2 separate regions of the Homo sapiens genome follow, and region 1 is linked to region 2. Evidence: promoter capture Hi-C in 16 types of primary human blood cells and fetal thymus (Javierre and others, 2016). All regions are on one chromosome and are shown on one strand. Each heading gives the region's core, a stretch centred on a gene start or on the middle of the fragment in contact. The rest is flanking DNA. Distances are from core to core; before and after follow the strand shown. Region 1 holds the start of DDX19B (DEAD-box helicase 19B). Region 2 holds the start of VAC14 (VAC14 component of PIKFYVE complex).

Region 1 (4,456 bases), core at 1,467-3,966, 500 kb after region 2:
CCCCAATATGAACTGTGCTCTAAAGACAGGAGTAACTAGTCCAATTTGAAGCAGACTTAAAGGCCTAGGAGAAATGGAATTGATAGAATACTTGATGAGTCTAAGCATCCTGAGATAAACTTAGACAACTGGAAGACAGTTTGGGGTTGAATTGATAATTAAGAAAAAAAAATGAAGCATAAACATAAGGCAATTAAGAATTCCAAGTAAAATAAATTTTATAGAAAAGTAAAGGGCCAGGCAAAGTGGCTCAGGCCTATAATCCCAACACTTTGGGAGGCCGAGGTGGGAGGATGGCTTGAGCCCAGCAGGTCAAGACCAACCTGGGTAATATAGTGAGACCTCGTCTTCACAAAAAATTAAAAAGTTAGCTGCATATGTTGGCACATGCTTGTAGTCCCGGTTACTCAGGAAGCTGAGGTGGGAGGATCACTTGAGCCTGGGAAGGGGAGGTTGTAGTTGGCAAGAGATGGTGTCAATGCACTCCAGCCTGGGTGACAGGGCAAGACCCTCTCTCAAAAAATATATGTAAAGAAAGAAAGAAACAGAAAAAAGAGGCTGGATGCAGTGGCTCACACCTGTAATCCCAGCACTTTGGGAGGCTGAGGCAGGTGGATCACTTGCACGCTGGAGTTCGAGACCAGCCTGGGCAACATGGCAAGTCCCCATCTCTACAAAAAAAATACAAAAAGTAGTTGGGCATAGTGGCACATGACTACAGTCCCAGTTACTCAGGAGGCTGAGGTGGGAGGATGGCTTGAGCCTGGGAGGCAGAGACTGCAGTGAGCCAAGATCACTCCACTGCACCCTAGCCTGGGCAACAGAGTGTGACCCTGTCTCCAAAAAAAAAAAAGGAGTTGCCTCTGGGGAGGAAAAAAATTGGCGGGAACCGTTGTTTTTAAAATAACTTCACTCTTTAAACAATGTGTATATACAACTTATTTTTTATGAGCTATAAAAAATAAAAGACAAGGTTCTTATTCTTGAGGAAGTCATAGCAATAAGTACTAACAGAAGTAGGTTCAAAGCCTACTAGGATTTAAAGTGTTTCGGTGGGAGAAATTAATTCTACGCAGTAGTGTTTAACACATCTCTTGCTTACCATGTGTCAGGTCCAGAAAAAAAGAACAAAGTGAAGCCGATGAGGAAAGGATTTGCTGACTGCCACACCTACTGGGTCCATCATTTATCACTGAGGAAGCACACAAATATGAGCAAAGACATGGTCCCTGAGCCAAAGAAGCTCTGAATGTAGAGGTGGAGAATGACACCTAAAATAACTATTACAAACCGGGGCGGCCAGGAACAATGGCTCAGCCTGTAATCCTGGTGCTTTGAAAGGCCGAGGCAGGAAGATAGCTTGAGACCAGGAGTTCCAGACTAGCCTGGGCAACCTAGCAAGACCATGTCTCTATTTCAATTAAAAACAAACAAAACACAATCTAGGGTGATGGGTGCAATCTATGATTCTTCCTGGTTCCAGGAAGACAGACAGGCAGCTGAGCGCTTTACCGATAGGAGCACTCACCTGCGCTTACGTAACGCGGAGGCGGCTGCGTAAACAAAGCCAGCTCAGGGTCCAGGCTCCATCCCTATCCTCCCCGCCACCCCATCCAGCCTCTAATCAACCTGGGAAACATTCTTTCCCAGGGACCAAGTCTCCGACCAGAACTAGTCCCCTGACCCTTTTAGGGCTGAAGCCAACTCACCGACTCAGCCGCAGCTTCCTGCTCGTCCACCGCCAGGGCCCATGAGTCAGTGGCCATGGTCCCAGGCGCGGGTGGGACGCTCGTGCTGGTGGATTCGAGGGATGGCACGAGGGATCGTGGGCTCCGGGGGTTCGCGGCAGGCTCTGCTCCAGCCCCACTACAAGGCTGCAGACCGGAAGCGGCGCGCCACAGTGACGTCGGAGGCCACTCCTGTTTGGCCACCCTTTGCCCACTTGAGGCTGTCGATTCTGTTGCCCTCAGACCCGTACCCCTCAACCCCGGGCAGAGCAAGCTTTCCTATCAAGCTGAGGTAGTTATCTTAAAATGCCTAAGCTCTGGTTAACTTGGATCTCCAACCAAAGAACAAAATCAGATTCCCGCCCAACACAGTGGCAGAGTAGGCACTAATACAGATTGAACAGATTGAATATATCAAAACAGAAAACCATTACCAATAGTCACCAAAATGCAAAACAAGCACAGAGCTGTTTCCCTTTTCAGATTGGTAATTTAAAATGTCCAGATGTTGGCAATCAGCCCTGACAACCCATTTGGTTAAAAGTCCACTTGACCACTATGCAATCTTGTTAGGCATGTAACAAAACTGCACCTGCACTCATAAATTTGTACCCCAAGAGGAGGAATTGCAGCTCTCCTATGTAAGCGTTGTAGAATCAGGAGAATGTTAAAAAGGAAGAAAACAGACGGTGCGGTGGCTCATGCATGTAATCCCAGCACTTCTGGAGGCCGAGGCGGAAGGATCACTTGAGCCCAGGAGGTCTAGGCTGCAGTGAGCCATGACAGGGCCACTGCACTCCAGCCTGGGTGACAGAGCAAAACTCTGTCTAGGAAAAAAATAAATAAAATTAAAATAGTAAAATAATTAAATAGAGCTAGGTGTGGTGGCTCATGCCTGTAATCTCAGCACTTGGGTTTTTGTTTGTTTTTTGAGATTGAGTCTGGCTCTGTCGCCCAGGCTGGAGTGCAGTGGCACGATTTCGGCTCACTGCAACCTCCACCTCCTGGGTTCAAGAAATTCTCTTGCCTCAGCCTCCCAAGTAGCTGGGATTACAAGCATGCGCCACCATGCCCAGCTAGTTTTTCTATTTTTAATAGAGATGGTGTTTCACCATGTTGGCCAGGATGGTCTCAATCTCCTGACCTCGTGATCCGCCTGCCTTGGCCTCCCAAAGTGCTGGGATTACAGGCGTGAGCCACTGCACCCGGCCTTTTGTTTTTTTAAGATAGAGACAGATCTTGCTGTGTTGTCCTGGCTGGTCTCAAACTCCTGAGCTCAAGTGATCCTCCCACCTCCACCTCCCAAAGTGCCAGGATTGGCCAGGCACAGTAGCTCACATGTGTAATCCTAGCATTTTGGGAGGTGGAGGTGGGAGGATCGCTTGAATCCAGGAGTTTGAAAACAACAACATAGCGAGGCCTTATCCTTACACAAGAAAAATTTAAAAATTAGCCAGGTGTCGTCGCACATGCCTGCAGTTCCAGCTACTTGGGAGGCTGAGGTGGGAGGATCACTTGAGCCCAGGAGGTTGAGGCTGCAGTTAGCAGTGTTTGTGTCACTGCACTCTAGTCTGCGCAACAGAGTAAGACTCTGCCTCATAAACAAATAAATAAATAGGAAGAAATATCTTGGGCTTTTAGTAGTTGTAAAATAAGGATTAAATGAAAGAACTGCTTTCTCCTAACTAGAATCAAAGAAGCTTCTCTTCCCTTGTTACTTCCCTAGAAAGAAACTAGGCATTTTCCTACAATCTGAAAAAAATGAATCCCAACCTCTTTCATTTTGCCAATATTATACAACAATAAGTTAATTTCAAGCCATGAGGCCGGGCACAATGGCTCACACCTGTAATCCCAGCACTTTGGGAGGCCAAGGTGGGTGGATCACCTGAGGTCAGGATATCAAGACCAGCTTGGCCAACATGGTGAAACCCTATCTCTACTAAAAATACAAAAATTAGCCAAGCATGGTGGTGCACACCTGTAATCCCAGCTACTTGTAAGCCTGAGGCAGGAGAATCACTAGAACCCGGAAGGCAAAGGTTGCAGTGAGCCGAGATCATGCCATCACACTGCAGCCTGGGCGACGAGTGAAACTCTGTCTCAAAAAAAATAAATAAATAGACTGGGCACGGTGGCTTGCACCTGTAATCCCAGCACTTTGGGAGGCCAAAGCAGGTGGATCACGAGGTCAGGAGATTGAGACCATCCTGACCAACATGGTGAAACCCTGTCTCTACTAAAAATACAAAAATTAGCTGGGTGTGGTGGCATGCACCTGTAGTCCCAGCTACTTGGGAGGCTGAGGCAGGAGAATCGCTTGAACCCGGGAGGTGGAGGTTGCAGTGAGCCAAGATCATGCCACTGCACTCCAGCCTGGACGACAGAGCAAGACTCTGTCTCAAATAAATACATAAATAAAAACAAACAAACAAAAATCAAGCCATGGTGGGTTCTCTGTGGAATTTTACCAGTACTGTAAGAGTAAAAACGTTTTGAGAAAGGGTAAAGCAGTTCCAGAGAACATTCTACTTGCTATGATTATTTTTTCCTGCACTCTCACAGGGTTAACTGGAGAAGACGTTTTTGTTTTTTGTTTTTGACCTTACACATGAGGATGTGCTAAAAAGAAAAAGGCAAACACCACCTTGGTAGCCATGACCTACATCTCATCAATTCAGAAGCAACCCTGGGGATATTTTCCCAGATAAATTATATTGTTTCACAGG
Region 2 (4,881 bases), core at 192-2,691:
CTGGCCAGCTGCATCCTCATCAGGAGGCTCAACTAGGGAAAGATCTGCTTCCAAGGACCCTCAATGTGTTGGCAAAATTCATTCCTTTGTGGCCATATGACTAAACTCCTTACAGGAGAGTCTCTCTTCCAGTTCAAATTTCTTCTAATCTCTTTTAAGTACTCACTTGATTCGGTCAGGCCGACTCAAGTTAATCTCTCTTTTTATTAATTCAATGTCTGCTGATTAGGGACCTTAATTACATCTGCAAAATCTCTTCTGCGATATTACATAATATAATCATGTGAGTGATGCATAGCCCATCATATTTACAAGTCTTGTTCACGCTGAAAGAGGGCATAATACAGGGCATGAACACGAAGGGGTGGGAATATTGGAGGTCATCCTAGAATTCTGCCTACTTTTGCCCTTTACTCATTGCGTCCCTGTTTCTGTTGAGGAAAATACTCCATTTTCAAGACTGTTATAAGGCCTATATATGCACTTTTCATTCATTAAAGAAAAGTATCACCATGCATTCTGAAACTGTTATTCTTTGAGCTCCACTGTAATCTAGCCCTTGTCCTAAGTCCCTGTTCACTCTGAAAGCTTATGATAGGAAAGGCTGATGCACCTCCCTGTTAACTGCATGTTTACCACACTCCGGCCATAAATTGCTTTTAAATATTTTGCCACATAGTTGGGATTTCTGTCTCACCATGTAATGTGATTCCCGAAGCAGCTGAAGGGGCTGCTTTCCAGGGGACCTATCTAGAGACCCGCACTCAGCAGATCTGGGGCCTTTCTCTCTGTCTGTAACCAGCCCTCCTAGGCATCAGAGCATGTTAAACACACCCCCAAATGGTGGAGTGACAGACACTGGTGGTACCTGAGATCTTAGGTGGTAGACAGGTAGTGCCATTTTTAATTGAGAATTTATTTTGATGTGTCTTAGAAAAAATATACCTATTCAAACTCATGGTTTTAGGGCATAAGCAAAGCTAAAAGAGATTTAAGGTATTTTTTAAAGTGAGTTGATTTGAGGAAAACATTAAATAGATAATACAAGTGGCTAGAATATGGTGAAAGTGATGACAGTGTTACTGCAGTTAGGGAAACGTCTGCATCTAGGAAATTGGTAAGTGACCAACTACTGAATGAACTAGTGAATTCGGTGACTATTGAATAAATTATGTTAAGTGAATCAGACTCCAAGAACCCATTCGGTCTTACGAACGTCTACAGAAGCCCACCACGTGCCATCAGTTGGGCGTGAGCTACACACCCATTAAAGCACGTCTCAAACCACACTCCAGCTACCTGGCGCGCAGCGCGATAGTGTGTGCAGTGTGGGTGGAGCCTTCCGAGGGCGTGGCCAATCCACCTGCGGCCTGCGGTGGGGGCGTGGCTGGAGAGGGGCGGGCCCTCGCGACGGAAGGCGGAAGTGCTGTAGAGTCATGTGACTCGAGTAACATGGCCGCTGTCTCGTGAGTCCCGCTAGTGCCGGGCGGGAGTTGTTAAGCGGCCAGGGTCAGGTGTGCTGGAGCGGGGTCCGGGCCCGGGTTCCAGGGCGAGGCGGCGGAGCGTGGCAGGCAAGCCTAGAGCGGCGTGGTCCATGCGCCGGCGCCGGGGGCAGAGCGGAGCCGCAGACTCCCCTGGCCCCGGCGCGGCCCCGGCAGCCGCGGGCTAAGGAGTCGCGAGGTTCCCCCAGCTGCCACCATGAACCCCGAGAAGGATTTCGCGCCGCTCACGCCTAACATCGTGCGCGCCCTCAATGACAAGCTGTACGAAAAGCGGAAGGTGGCAGCGCTGGAGATCGAGAAGTAAGAGCCGCCAGGACCCCTCCCTGGCTATGCAGCCCCTGACTGCTCTGCTCCCCAGGGGGACTTCTCACGCCTTCCCAGCCAGGGTTACTTTCCCAGGTTTTAGGCCCTTACCTTAGCGCAGTGTTTAAGAGCAGATTGGGAGCCATATCTGGGAGTCCCTGCTTTACTCCTGACTGGCTGTGTGATTTGGTCCCAGCTTTTTAACCTCCCGGTGCCACAAAGGGCTGCAGTGAGAATGAAGTGACATCATGTATGGGTAGTGCTTTGCACAGTGCATGGCACATGGTGAGTCTTCGGTGCGGTGCCACCCAAACCAGCAAATCAGAGAGTTGTCTCTGTGGTGAGAGAGAAGTCAGAAGCCGGAGAATTTGCAGGTGATGCTGACCAGCCTGGTTTCTTACCCAGCTTCTGAGAAGTGAAGGAGATTGTTAGTGACCAAGTAGAGAAATCAGGTCGGAAAACTCGTGATCTCAAGGCTCAGAGAGTTTTTTGTTTTATCTGTGTTATAACACCCTTCCCTGCAAGTGGAAGTAGAAATAATTTGACCTTTCTTGCTTCTGCAGTCTTGTTACATGTATGTGTAACAATGATCTGATATTTTACTTTATTTCCCAATGTACAAAACAGCGAAAGTTTAACTGGGGATGTTTTATTTATTTTTTTTTCTGCAGTATTATTTTACTTTTGTGGGTTTTTTCCCAGTCACATTTTAGTGTTAAAGTCAAGTGAGTGAGTGATTTCAGAAAATTGGAAAGAAGCAGGCTGTGAAACTGGAAGAATACCAGTCTGCGAGTCAGAAAAGGTGAATTGTATTTCTGTTCTGTCCAGTAGAGTAGCCGTTGGCCGTGCGTAGCTATTATAAATTTAAATTATTAAAGATTAAACTTTAGTTTCTCAGTCACACTACCCGTATTTCAAGTGTTCAATAGCCACATGTAGCTATTGGCTGCTATATAGGGCAGCACAGATTATAGACTGTTTCCATCATTGCAGAATGCTCTATTGGACTGCTCTAATCTATTCCGTGGTGTGACATTCATTCGTTAACCTGGGGCAAATTCCTTAACTCAGGGTTTCTCAGCCTCTGCACCATTCACATTTTGGGGCAGATGATTTTTGGTTGTAGTGGGCTGTCCTGTGCCTTGCAGGATTTTTAACAGCGTCTCTGACCTCTTCCCACTGGATGCCAGTAGCACTCCATCCGTTGTAACAATCAAAAATGTCTTCAGACATTGCTAAATGTCCCCTGAAGGAGCAAAATTGCCCCGGTTGACAACTGCTGCTTGCAATCCAAATCAAATGTTGCTTTGGATTTTAGTTTCCTCCTAAACTAAAGGGTTCGGACCTTGATAAGAAATCCCCCACCCTGCCTCCATTCAGCTCTCATACTCAGTATGTCCACAACCATCTAGCTGCTTCTCTCATCAGACACCACTTTCTTGACTGCTCCTTTTATATAGCTTTTTGTTTATGCCTGACTCTCACGAATGCTAGCAAGTCTTATTGCACATTGCCATACTGAATAGAGGGACCCAGAAATGATATATAGGCATGGTTCCGTGTCCATGGGGTTTTGTTGGCTTTGAAGTTGCCTTGACACCTAGTTTTGTCCCTCACCCACTCTGCTTCTCAGGAATATCCGGTTTTATTGTAGCTTGAGTCGTCTGTTGAGTCCTTGAAGAGAGAGGTATTCATCTCAACATTATTGTTGCTTCCAGCGCAACCTGTGTATCTGTTCTCACTCTGCACACAGTTCTGTAAGGGTTTTGTCTTTGATCGAGTTCATTTTGTATTGGACATTGCCCTTGATTTGTGGAATTTAGAGAAACTCAGCAGTGCCTTGACTGTGAACTCCTTAAGAGCAGAGAGTTCTGTTTATGTATCTGTTTTATTTATCCTTAGCACTTAGCCTGGCAGCACTTGACAGCTGGTGTCCGAATAAATGAATGACCGTACATTTTCGGTGGGGAAATAACATTGCAGGCTCAGGACCTTGCTGCCCAAAAGCGTGGCCTACAGACAGCAGCATCAGGATCACCTGGGAGCTTGTTAGAGGCTCTGCAGCTTTGCTCCAGACCTATGGAATCAGAATCTGCATTTTAACAAGATCCCTGGGTGATTTGTGTGCACATTAAAGTTTGAGAAGCACTGGCCTCAAAGACCCTCTCATCTGTTTCCAACCTTCTCCAGTCATGCTTAGAATGAAGAATGGCTGGTTAGTTCAATGCCTTCCTCAGAACATATGCTTCACAAATTGCTTAGAGATAGATACTGACTTACTTATCTGTGCTTCACCAGCACCAGCATTTTGCTTGTCTGAGCACTTTCTATGTGTCAGGTACACATAGGATATTGTATGTTTTAATATATTCTTCATTTGGCCTGGTCAAAGTGACCCTCAGCAAACACAGACTATTAATTAATCTCTCATTAATCAGACTGCAGATGCCCAACAAAAGAAGAGTCCGAATATTGGCAGTTATCTATGTAGTGTAAATGAGTCAGTTCATGTGCTCCCTAAATGAAAGTGCTTAGTCCTGTTCTTAGGTAAGTTGCCCCTTTAAGATACCCTATTTCCTGAGAGGCTGCGTGGCATGGTGTTTAAGAGCAGGCTCTGGAACTGGGGTTCAAGCTCCCATTTACTGGCTAGGTGACCCTGAGCAAGCTAATTAACCTCTGTGCCTCAATTTCTTCATCTGTAAAAAGAGCATAATAATAATATGCATAGAGTTGTTTGAGCTAATGTTGTAAAGTGCTGTGTTAGTCTGTTCTTGCTCTGCTATAAACAAATACCTGAGACTGGGTAATTTATAAAGAAAAGAGATTTATTTGGCTCACGGTTCTGCAAGCTGTACAGAAAGCATAGCGGCTTCTGCTTCTGGCGGGGCCTCAGGATGCTTCCAATCATGATGGAGGGCAAAGAGGGAGCAAGGCGTCCCACATGGCGGGAGCAGGAGCAAAAGAGAGTGAGCAGGGAGGTGCTGCACACTTTCAAACAACCAGATCTCTTGAGAACTCACTATCACAAGAACAGCACCAAGAAGATGGTGCTAGGCCATTCATCATCATGGGAGAA

The links. The method cuts DNA at HindIII sites, captures the fragments that hold promoters and counts their contacts. A CHiCAGO score of 5 or more calls a contact.
Region 1: a fragment that was not itself captured here is called in contact with the fragment with the promoter of VAC14 in region 2 in 1 of 17 cell types (fetal thymus); the score reaches 5.9 in fetal thymus.

What each region holds. Positions count from the first base shown.
Region 1 is chr16:70,296,608-70,301,063 of GRCh38, reverse strand. It overlaps DDX19B (DEAD-box helicase 19B), which reads right to left and starts at 1,878. Exons shown (of 12, transcript NM_007242.7): 1 at 1,710-1,878. The coding sequence starts at 1,766. RefSeq lists enhancers at 1,803-2,032, 1,764-2,058. The HindIII fragment of the contact is 1,426 bases long and covers 2,004-3,429 here.
Region 2 is chr16:70,797,718-70,802,598 of GRCh38, reverse strand. It overlaps VAC14 (VAC14 component of PIKFYVE complex), which reads left to right and starts at 1,441. Exons shown (of 19, transcript NM_018052.5): 1 at 1,441-1,802. The coding sequence starts at 1,699. It overlaps HYDIN (HYDIN axonemal central pair apparatus protein), which reads left to right. Exons shown (of 86, transcript NM_001270974.2): 86 at 1-515. RefSeq lists enhancers at 1,406-1,465, 1,133-1,755 and a silencer at 1,546-1,735. The HindIII fragment of the contact is 5,317 bases long and covers 591-4,881 here.